Regions from separate parts of the Homo sapiens genome. Here regions 1, 2 and 3 are each linked to region 4. Evidence: promoter capture Hi-C in human tissues and cell types (Jung and others, 2019). All regions are on one chromosome and are shown on one strand. The core of a region is centred on a gene start or on the middle of the fragment in contact, and the rest is flanking DNA. Distances in the headings are between cores, read along the strand shown. Region 1 has its middle 12 kb from the start of ZNF20. Region 2 overlaps ZNF136 (zinc finger protein 136). Region 3 has its middle 6.5 kb from the start of LINC02926. Region 4 holds the start of ZNF563 (zinc finger protein 563).

What was found. The method cuts DNA at HindIII sites, captures the fragments that hold promoters and counts their contacts. A contact is called where the count stands out against the background at its distance.
Region 1: a contact is called between a fragment that was not itself captured here and the fragment with the promoter of ZNF563 in region 4, in 6 of the 25 tissues and cell types used here (H1 embryonic stem cells, aorta, dorsolateral prefrontal cortex and 3 more).
Region 2: a contact is called between a fragment that was not itself captured here and the fragment with the promoter of ZNF563 in region 4, in 6 of the 25 tissues and cell types used here (dorsolateral prefrontal cortex, heart left ventricle, heart right ventricle and 3 more).
Region 3: a fragment that was not itself captured here is called in contact with the fragment with the promoter of ZNF563 in region 4 in 1 of the 25 tissues and cell types used here (H1 embryonic stem cells).

What each region holds. Positions count from the first base shown.
Region 1 is chr19:12,126,946-12,129,645 of GRCh38, reverse strand. No RefSeq gene overlaps it. Among named protein-coding and RNA genes, the nearest start is that of ZNF20, 12 kb to the left of the region's middle. The HindIII fragment of the contact is 9,523 bases long and covers 1-2,700 here.
Region 2 is chr19:12,179,233-12,181,932 of GRCh38, reverse strand. The region is part of intron 1 of ZNF136 (zinc finger protein 136); the gene reads right to left. Among named protein-coding and RNA genes, the nearest start is that of ZNF136, 17 kb to the right of the region's middle. The HindIII fragment of the contact is 3,876 bases long and covers 1-2,700 here.
Region 3 is chr19:12,556,853-12,559,552 of GRCh38, reverse strand. It overlaps the pseudogene PGK1P2. Among named protein-coding and RNA genes, the nearest start is that of LINC02926, 6.5 kb to the right of the region's middle. The HindIII fragment of the contact is 3,766 bases long and covers 1-2,700 here.
Region 4 is chr19:12,332,296-12,334,995 of GRCh38, reverse strand. It overlaps ZNF563 (zinc finger protein 563), which reads left to right and starts at 1,363. Exons shown (of 4, transcript NM_145276.3): 1 at 1,363-1,516. The coding sequence starts at 1,514. RefSeq lists a silencer at 1,130-1,269 and enhancers at 442-1,307, 1,410-1,669, 1,900-2,009. The HindIII fragment of the contact is 22,494 bases long and covers 1-2,700 here.

The DNA.
Region 1 (2,700 bases), core at 33-2,532, 210 kb after region 4:
TATAAGTGTGAGCCACCACGCCTGGCCCAAAAATTCTTATTTTGACTATTCATGTCTTATTTTTGCACTTTTTCACAAAGCAAGGTCAAAAAGCAAAGGAAAAATCCTTTAAGATCAATGTACTTAGGTTGAAAATGTGTTTTTTCTCAGGAAAAACTTGTAATTTATATAATTACAATCCTCAGTTTATTTGCAGCATCACCAAATTTTCTTACATATTTCAAATGTGAACTTAAGATATATATTTTTCTCATTATTTACATTTTGCTTCCTACCTATGGCTTTTTTTTTTTTTTTTTTGAGACAGAGTGTCGCTCTGTTGCCTAGGCTGAATTGCAGTGGCACGATCTCAGCTCACTGCAACCTCTGCTTCCCAGGTTCAAGCAAGTCTCGTCACAACCTCCCAAGTAGCTGGCACTACAGGCGAACACCACCATGCCCAGTTAATTTTTGTGTTTTTTGTAGAATTGGAGTTTCACCATGTTGGCCAGACTGGTCTCTAAACTCCTGGCCTCAAGCGATCCATCTGCCTCGGCCTCCCAAAGTGCTGGGATTATAGGCATGAGCCAACATGCCTGGCTCCTCTAGACCTTTTAAATCTTTTACTCATGATATTGGTCAGCCCACGGTCAAAATAATTCATAAAAGGTATATACAAAAATTCAACACCACAATGAAAGTTAAATTCATTTGTTTAGAACCACTCAAGCAACTCAGGTGTACACAGATAGACCTGTGGCAACTGGTGAACAATTAAATGGCACAGAAGTGGCTGGGTGCAGTGGCTCATGCCTGTAATCCCGGCACTTTGGGAGGCCGAGGCGGGCGGATCATGAAGTCAGGAGATTGAGACCATTCTGGCCAACATGGTGAAACCTGTCTCTACTAAAATACAAAAAATTAGCCGGGCGTGGTGGCGGGCTCCTATAGTCCCAGCTACTCAGGAGGCTGAGGCAGAGGAATCCCTTGAACCCGGGAGGCAGAGACTGCAGTGAGCTGAGATCGTGCCACTGCACTTCAGCCTGGCAAAAGAGCAAGACTCTGTCTCAAAATAAATAAATGGCACGGAAGTTGCAATAATGACCTCTGCTGTGCAGTACTCTCTTGGCAGAGATACACAAGAACTCCAATAAGGCCCTCATATGATATGCAGAACTGCCTCAAACATCATGTGACCATAGAACTTTGCCAAGGACAGTCTTTTTGTACATCTCTGCACCTGGCTTACCCAAAGATTGGACTGGGCGCATTTCTCAAGCCATTGTCTACTGAACGTTCTTTGTAGCGTGTGGGGCAATGACGATTGCCTAGGTGTAATTTCCTAATCGCTGGGGTAGGTCTGGTTTCTGAGGGCCCAGCAGAGGAACTCAGTTCACAAAAATGGCTTCCTGTAGTTTCTGCTTGATACTTCCTATTCTGCCATCTTCCCAGAATCCTCTTTCCTGACTTCATATACTAACACGTCATTTCAGATCTCACTACAGATGTCACCACCTCAAGACACTGTCTTCTTTTCCGCCCCCCTTACCCCAACTTGAAACTCAAGGTCACACTCTCTCACCCATTACTCCTATTTCATTTAGTGTGTAGAATTTTTTCAACACACTTGTCAGAATCTGGAACATAACGTTCACAGGGTTGATTGCTCTCTGTTTAACAAGGTAAAAAGTTAAGTCATGTAGGCTGGGTGCGGTGGCTCACGCCTGTTATCCCAGCACTTTGGGAGGCCAAGGTAGACAGATCACGAGGTCAGGAGATCGAGACCATCCTGGCTAACATGGTGAAACCCTGTCTCTACTAAAAATACAAAAAATTAGCCGGGCGTGGTGGCGGGCGCCCGTAGTCCCAGCTACTCAGGAGGCTGAGGCAGGAGAATGGCATGAACCTGGGAGGCAGAGCTTGCATTGAGCCAAGATTGTGCCACTGCACTCCAGCCTGGGTGACAGAGCAAGACGCTGTCTCAAAAAAAAAAAAAAAAAAGTCATGTAAATTTAAGTGTCACCTTTCTTTTCTTTTCTTTTTTTTTTTGAACCTTTTCACCAACTGTTACACACTTTTTTTTTTTTTGAGACAGAGTCTCGCTCTGTCGCCAGGCTTGAGTGCAGTGGTGCGATCTCAGCTCACTGCAACCTTCACCTGCTGGGTTCAAGCAATTCTCCTGCCTCAGCCTCCCGAGTAGCTGGGATTACAGGCACGCACTACCACACCTGGTTAATTTTTGTATTTGTATTTGTATTACAGATGTGAGCCACCGCGCCTGGCTTACACCCTATATTAAAAAGTATTTCAGGGGCCAGGCACGGCGGCTTATGCCTATAATCCCAGCACTTTGGGAGGCCAAGGCGGGCGGATCACTTGAGGTCAGGAGTTCTAGACCAGCCTGGCCAACATAGTGAAACCCTGTCTCTACTAAAAGTACAAAAATTAGCCGGCTGGGGTGGTGGCCACCTGTAATCCCAGCTACTCGGGAGGCTGAAGCAGGAGAATCACTTGAACCTGGGAGGCAGAGGTTGCAGTGAGCTGAGACTGCAACACTGCACTCCAGCCTGGGCAACAGAGCAAGACCTTGTCTCTAAAATAACATAACATAACATAACATAACATAACATAACATAACATAACATAACATAACAACATAACATAACATAAATACAGTAGAGTAGAGTAGAGTAGAATTTCCAACAAAGTCCTTTGAACCAT
Region 2 (2,700 bases), core at 17-2,516, 150 kb after region 4:
CCGGGCGCGGTGGCTCACACCTGTAATCCCAGTACTTTGGGAGGCAGAGACAGGCGGATTGCGAGGTCAGGAGATCGAAACCATCCTGGCTAATATGGTGAAACCCTGTCTCTACTAAAAATACAAAGAAATTAGCCGGGCGTAGTGGTGGGTGCCTGTAGTCCCAGCTACTCGGGAGGCTGAAGCAGGAGAATGGTGTGAACCCGGGAGGCGGAGCTTGCAGTGAGCCAAGATCACACCACTGCCCTCCAGCCTGGGCGACTCAGTGAGGCTCTGTCCCCCCCCAAAAAAAATTAGCTGGGCGTGGTGGCAGGTGCCTGTAATCCCACCTACTCAGGAGGCTGAGGCAGGAAAATCGCTTGAATCCAGGAGGCGGACATTGCAGTGAGTGGAGATTGCGCCACTGCATTCCAGCCTCGGCGACAGAATGAGACTCCACCAAAAAAAAAAAAACAAAAACAAATGCAAAAACAAAACAAAACAAAAAAACCAAATAGTTGATAACACTGTGCATCCGAGAACAGAAGCTGGTGTTGGGGACTGCAGAAATTATACCTACAATTTAGCAGTTTGCTGCCAGATCAAGGAGAGTTAGGCCGGGGGTGGATTTGATACCCTGCTTCCCACACATTTGAGCAACTCAGATGAAACAGAATCGGATGCTGATGGCGAGGAGGCCTGGGCCCCTCCAGCCATGTCGGACCCCAGGCCCCTGCACACTTGCCATTTCCCACACTCGCCATTTCCCATCTTCGGGGTCTCCTGGGTCCTCCCTCCGGCTACCACGGCCAGCACAGAGCACAGAGCCAGGGCAGTGGAGCCAGGAGCCAGAAGAAAGGTAATGCAGCCAGCTCAAGAAAAGAAAATTCACCACAAGATCGTACAGGGTGGGGTGAGGTTGGGGGCAGACAGGGCTCTGAGGCGCGCCTGATTGGACAATAAGTAGGATGCCATCCTGGCACCCCTAACTGGATATAACTTCAGGCTCCGCCCCTGTGGCTTAAGGGGCAGAACACTTAAGATGTTTCAACAGGGATCCAACGTGGTTCTAGCACACACCGTATGCAGTGGTGTGCCTTCCTCCAGGTTCCAGATACCCATGTCCAAAGTCAGCATCACATATTACATGCATTAAAATTTTTAACCAATGCAAAAATGACAATAAGCCATACCTATATCTTTACGGGGAATCATTATTGTTAACCTCAAAAAGGCAGGACTGTCTATATTGCTATGCACTATCTACATCCACACTTAAGCAGTTCCTGAAATGGTGCTGAAGATGTATAAGAGGTGGAAATATAAATGACCGATGGTGACATTTCTTCACTCACTGATGTTGCCACCCTCCACAGAGAACATATACACACACCCTCAGCTTCCGTATTATCTCACACCATCATTTACTTTCCTTCAAAGTGCTTATTTCCTTCTTATAAACCAGTCTTACCATTTTTTCAACCCCTCTCCTTTCTCACAAAAATATAAGCACCAGGATTTCAAGAATTTATTCACTTTGTGTTCCCATATCAGAGCCTTCAGTGCCTGCATCATTTGTGCTTAATTCTGGATGTTCTGAGTCTACAGTTCTGGCATATGAGGCATATTGAAAAATTAGCATCAAGAGCATATTATCTGAGCAAGAGAGGCTTGATTAGAATAGTGATCATGTCTCTGTCCCTTGCTAGGTTTATATTCTGACAACTTTCCTAGAGGCATTAGCCTAATTTGACTAATAAGGGAGACTTTTAAAAATTATCAGTAGTTGGCCGGGGGCGGTGGCTCACGCCTGTAATCCCAGCACTTTGGGAGACCGAGGCAGGCAGATCACGAGGTCAGGAGATCAAGACCATCCTGGCTAACATGGTGAAACCCCGTCTCTACTAAAATTACAAAAAAATTAGCCGGGTGTGGTGGCGGGCACCTGTAGTCCCAGCTACTCGGGAGGCTGAGGCAGGAGAATGGTGTGAACCCGGGAGGTGGAGCTTGCAGTGAGCCGAGACTGCGCCACTGCACTCCAGCCCGGGCAACAGAGCCAGACTCTGTCTCAAAAAAAAAAAATTATCAATAGTTAGAATTTATATATTTCAACTGAGGTATCTTATGGGAAGCCATGTCTAATTCATCATAAGAAATATTTCAGTGTTTAGGTAATAAACTTAGCGCCACTCCATCTTTTTTACTTCTGGGTAAGAACTATCATAATAACCAAGGCCAGAAATAACCTTGCTTCTTCATAGTATACAATCCAGAGAAGCTTCTTGCTTTGAATAGCAATCAATACACCTGAAGCAAGCACACGTCCTAGAAGAAATTCTTTTGGGCTGGGTGTGGTGGCTCACGCCTGTAATCCCAGCACTTTGGGAGGCCGAGGCTGGCAGACCACCTGAGGTCAGGAGATCGAGACCACCCTGGCCAACATGGAGGAACCCCGTCTCTATAAAAAATACAAAAATTAACCAGGCATGGTGACCTGTGCCTGTAATCCCAGCTACTCAGGAGGGTGAGGCAGGAGAATAGCTTGAACCTGGAAGGCAGAGGTTGCAGTAAGCCCAGACTGTGCCACTTGCACTCCAGCCTGGCCGACAGAGTGAGACTCCATCTCAAAAAAAAAAGAAAAAAAAAAAAAGAAATTCTTTTGAGCGCTCTCCTATTGATACACCACACAGTCACGTATGGTTTACTATCATATTTATGATG
Region 3 (2,700 bases), core at 168-2,667, 220 kb before region 4:
GAGACAGCTTGGTAATTCAGACAGCCAGGGAGCCGGCTACCGACGTGTGCTCGGGAGGTTTGCAGAATCCAGTGGTATACTTTTTTTTTTTGGAGATGGAGTCTCGCTCTCTTGCCCAGGCTGGAGTGCAGTGGTGCGATCTCCGCTCACTGCAAGCTCTGCCTCCTGGGTTCACGCCAGTCTCCTGCCTCAGCCTCCCGAGTAGCTGGAACTACAGGCTCCCGCCACCACACCCGGCAAATTTTTTGTATTTTTAGTAGAGACGGGGTTTCACCATGTTAGCCAGGATGGTCTCCATCTCCTGACCTCCTGATCCACCCACCTCGGCCTCCCAAAGTGCTGGGATTACAGGCGTGAGCCACCGCACCTGGCCAGTGGTGTACTTTTTAACAAAAATTTATTTTGAGGTCATTGCATATTCACATGTAGGAAATTATACAGCCATTTTCTCTCAATGGTAACATGTTGCATAGCTGTAGTACAATGTCCTAATCAGGAAATTTCATCTCACCCACCTCCGTCAACCCAATGAACAAGTACAGAGAGTACACTGTTCACAGAGGTGGTTCAACAATTCTACTTCCAAAGAGTATTTCCCACCAGTTTTTTTTCTTTTTTTATTTTTTGAGACAGAGTCTCACTCTGTCACCTAGGTTGGAGTGCAGTGGCACGATCTCAGCTCACTGCAGTCTCTGCCTCCTGGGTTCAAGCGGTTCTCGTGCCTCAGCCTCCTGAGTAGCTGAGGGATTACAGGCACTCACCACCAAGCCTAGCTACTTTTTGTGTTTTCAGTAGAGACAGGGTTTCGCCATGTTGGCCAGGCTGTTCTGGAACTCCTGACCTCAAATGATTCACCAGCCTCAGCCACCCAAAGTGTTGGGATTACAGGCGTGAGCCACTGTGCCCCATCAGTTGTTTTTTTTTTTTTGTTTTTTTTTTTGAGACACAGTCTCGCTCTGTCACCCAGGCTGGAGTGCAGTGGCGCAGTCTCAGCTCACTGCAAGCTCCGTCTCCCAGGTTCACGCCATTCTCCTGCCTCAGCCTCCCAAGTAGCTGGGACTACAGGCACCCACCACCACGCCTGGCTAATTTTTTGTATTTTTAGTAGAGACAGGGTTTCACCATGTTAGCCAGGATGGTCTCGATCTCCTGACCTCGTGATCCACCTGCCTTGGACTCCCAAAGTGCTGGGATTACAGGCGTGAGCCACCGTGCCTGGCCCCAGCCCCATCAGTTTTTAAAAGTTATTTACAAAAAGTATTATTTGCCGGGCGCAGTGGCTCATGCCTGTAATCCAAGCACTTTGGGAGGCCTAGGTGGGTGGATCATCTGAGGTCAGGAGTTCAAGACCAGCCTAGCCAACATGGTGAAACCCTGTCTCTACTAAAAACACAAAAGGTAGCTGGGCATGGTGGTGCACCCCTGTAATCCCAGCTACTCAGGAGGCTGAGGCAGGAGAATTGCTTGAGCCCAGGAGGCGGAGGTTGCAATGAGCCGATATCGTGCCACTGCACTCCAGCCTGGGTGACAGAGTGAGACTCCGTCTCAACAAAAACAAAAACAAAAAACAGTGTTATGCTACTACTACTTTTAAATACATGAAGCACTTCCAAATATCTAGAAATACTAGATATTTCATCTAACTTGTCCACCATGTACACGCACTGTTAAATAAAATTCCACACATGTAACCGTGGTTATAATCTGAGGTATCTCCTAAATATGACCATTTTGGCCTTGAACCATTCCCTCCTCACTTCCTTCTCTCTGCTTTCAATCCAGTGGACAAGTACACGCATGTGTAATGCTTAGAGATGGTTGAACAAACTCCTATCCAAAAGTCATCCACAGAAGACAAGTTTCCTATGAATTTCAACACAAAGTATACAAAATATGCTAAATTTACTAAGTACTTTATCACACACTGGCAACCTCTTTAACATCCAGCAATTAGATGTTGCAAAATCAGGATGCATTTGCCCATTGTATATGCTATATACAGAGCAAAACAAAATGCACAAAACATACAGAAAAATAGTGTCTGAAAATGTCCAATTATGAACACACTGGCCTATTACCTTTTGCAATTTCTTCCCTCCCACCTCCTCTAAACTATCGAACAACTATACACAGTACTACACTGCTCACAAAGGTGGTTAAACAATTCAATTTCCAAAAGGCAGTGTTTCCTATAAATTTTAACAAAAAGATATTTACAGTGATATTTCACTACCTCTATATTTAATATACGTGGGACACTTCCAAACATCTAGGTAGACTAGACATTTGAAGTAAGGAGTTAATTTTTCCACTATGTAACAGCAGTCTTGAATAAACTGCAAACATGTGACAACAGTTATAATTTGAAAGTCTTCCAAATATGAACATTCTGGCCTAGAACCCTTTCTGTCTCCATCAACCCAGTGGGCAAAAATGCTCAAATTTTCAGAAGACAATATTTCATAGGAATTTTATTTTTTATTTTTATTTATTTATTTATTTATTTTTGAGACGGAGTTTCGTTCTTGTTGCCCAGGCTGGAGTGCAATGACAAATGTAGAGTTCGTAAATGAATATATTTTGCATATTTTGTTTTAAAATTCCTAGGAAAGGCCAGGCGCCTTGGCTTGCACCTGTAATCCCAGCAGTTTGGGAGGCTGAGGCCAGCAGATCACCTGAGGTCAGGAGTTTGAGACCAGC
Region 4 (2,700 bases), core at 114-2,613:
GCTGCACATAGAATCAGAATTTACCATTTATGTGTTAGGAAAATCTGGGTAAAGGGTTTATGAATTTGACAGTTTATGTAGGTCAGTACCTTAAAGTAACCTTTTTTTTTTTTTTTTTTTTTTTTTTGAGACCAGGTCTCACTCTGTCACCCAGGCTGGAATGCCGTGGCACGATCTCGGCTCACTGCAACCTCCGCCTCCCAGGTTCAAGTGATTCTCCTGCCTCAGCCTCCCGAGTAGCTGGGATTACAGGTGCCCGCCACCATGCCCAGCTAATTTTTGTATTTTTAGTAGAGATGTGGTTTCACCATGTTGGCCAGGCTGGTCTCCAACTGGTGACCTCAGGTGATTCACCCGCCTCGGCCTCCCAAAGTGCTGGGATTGCAGGCGTGAGCCACCGCCCCGGGCCCTTAAACTAACTTTACATGAAACTTTCCTGTTGGTGAAAATGCACATCTTGACGGTGGGGGCATTTCCACACTCTGCAGAGGGCACAGGGAAGTATGTTGAGCTCCCAGAGTCAAATCCTTCAGTGTCCCAGTCTCATCACCAGGTTTTGGTTCACTCTGGGGTTCCATTTCAACAGTTAAGAGTGGCTGCCAAGTTTGGGCATATGTTTAGCCTCCTGAATGGGACGTTTGCTGAAGTATGAGGGCAGCAGGCTGCTTATCTGCACTAGTTCAAGTTTTTGCTTTTTTTTTCCTGTTGTATTTTTGTTTTGATTCATTCATTCATTTATTGCTGCCGTGTGATTTCAGTTCTTCCACACATTTGATATTTTAATACCGTTCTTGACTTGTTTTTATTTCCTTGGCTGAAAATGAGCAGATTGAGAGGCAAGGTGAGAGAGGAAGGCTTAACCTTGCCGCCAAGAGTCTCATCCTCAAATCCTGATGCCCGGTGGACATCAGGCCACCCTCCTGCTGCAGTGTGGCCTGTGTGGCCTTGGGCTCCCCTCTGCTCTGAGGCCAGGGGAATGGCTCCACTGGACTGTGAGTCTGGGATTCCCTGCAAAACACTTGTGACTCCTTCTCCAGGAGGAAAAGGCAGTAAGGGCCTGCTGAGTACGGGCAGGTAATTCTGCATAAATGCAAATGTTCCCTGGGAGGGATCAGGACAGCACAGGGAGGAAGCCTGCCCTGTCAAGGGCTGTGCCTGGAACTCGTTCATCCCGCTCGACTCAGCACTGTGTGATCGCTTCTTCTGTCACTCAGTGCCCAGGGGGCGGGACCTGGAGCCCTATCCAATCAGAGCTATGGGGCGGGGTCGTGAGAACTGTCAATCAGGCGCACGGCTGGCAGTAGGGTGCCAGGTTCAAAGAGCCCGCGGCGTCTTCACGCCCCTGCGCTCAGCTCTAGACTCAGTCGCTCGCTGAGAGACGCCCTGGAACGTCTGTGTAGCCTCAGTCGCTGAGAGACGCCCTGGAACGTCTGTGGCAGCCTCTGTCACAGTGGGACCCGCACTGGCAGCGGGAGGCAGAGGGAGGACCCTGGAACATCCCGGAAGCCGGGAAATGGTGCGTGTGCAGGGTCAGGCGTCCCAAAAGTGGGAAAGAGCTGGTTGGAACCGTCCAGAACCGGCCGCGGCGAACGTGGGCCTCCCCCGCCGTCAGCTCCGGGGTCTGGGACCCGAGTCCCCCTGGCGCAGCTCGACCCTCGGTCCCCTCAGCCACAGAGTGAGGCTGAGCTGGCAGCCGGGACCCCGGGCGTCCTATCCGGTCCCTGCGCGGCAACTGCGGTCCCGGCCTCGGAGCCCTGTCTGGGCAGCTCCTCGCCCGCAGCCCCCCATCTCCCCAGGATTGGGGGAGGGTCACGGAAGGGTCATGGAGGGAATCCCCACTCGTGTGTGGGGTTCGTGCCTGTGAGGAGCTGTGATCTGTGGGATCCTCAGTCTCTGTTTTCTTCCTAAAGGGGACCGGTGTCCCTCTGAGTCTTCAAAGGTTTGGGAAGGCAGATGTCTAATGCTTATCTTGTCCCCTCACCCTAACTCCTGGGGCTGGCAGTAAATCCCTAGATTTCCAGATTTTGCCCTGCATTTCATAAAGCTGACTTCCTCTCCGTCACAGGGGAACGACTGCTATCTGGGCCGGTAACGCCGGGGTAAAATAATTTTTACTAAGACAGTTGTAGGTAAAGTTATTAGCGAAAGAAGCAAAATCCATCGCAAGGGAGGCCATGGGAAGCCTGCAGGAGAGAAGCAGAGGCTTGTGGGTGATTTTATAGAATGGAACTTGGGCTGATTGATAGTGCCAAGGCAGCAGAGTGCCAAGGCAGCAGGGAGCTTAACTTGCATTCCTCTGTCAGCCCCGGTGTTTGATAAATTGAGGCGTTTGATGGTGAGCAGGAAGTCTGTGAATTAAGTGCGTTATCTGGGCAAGAAGGCCATGTCTTGGGCCATAAAGAAAGTTAGACATGTACAGGAGTTCCAGACCAGCCTGGCCAAGATGGCGAAACCCCTTCTCTACTAAAAATACAAAAATTAGCCAGACGTGGTGTCACATGCCTGTAATCTCAGCTACTCGAGAGGCTGAGGCAGGAGAATCGCTTGAACCCATGAGGCGGAGGTTGCAGTGAACTGAGATCACGTCACTGCACTCCAGTCTGGGCCGGCGACAGAGAGAGACTCCGTCTCAAAAAAAAAAAAAAAAAGAAAAAAGAAAAAAAACAAAGTTAGACCCGTAACTTACCTGCATTCTCTTTT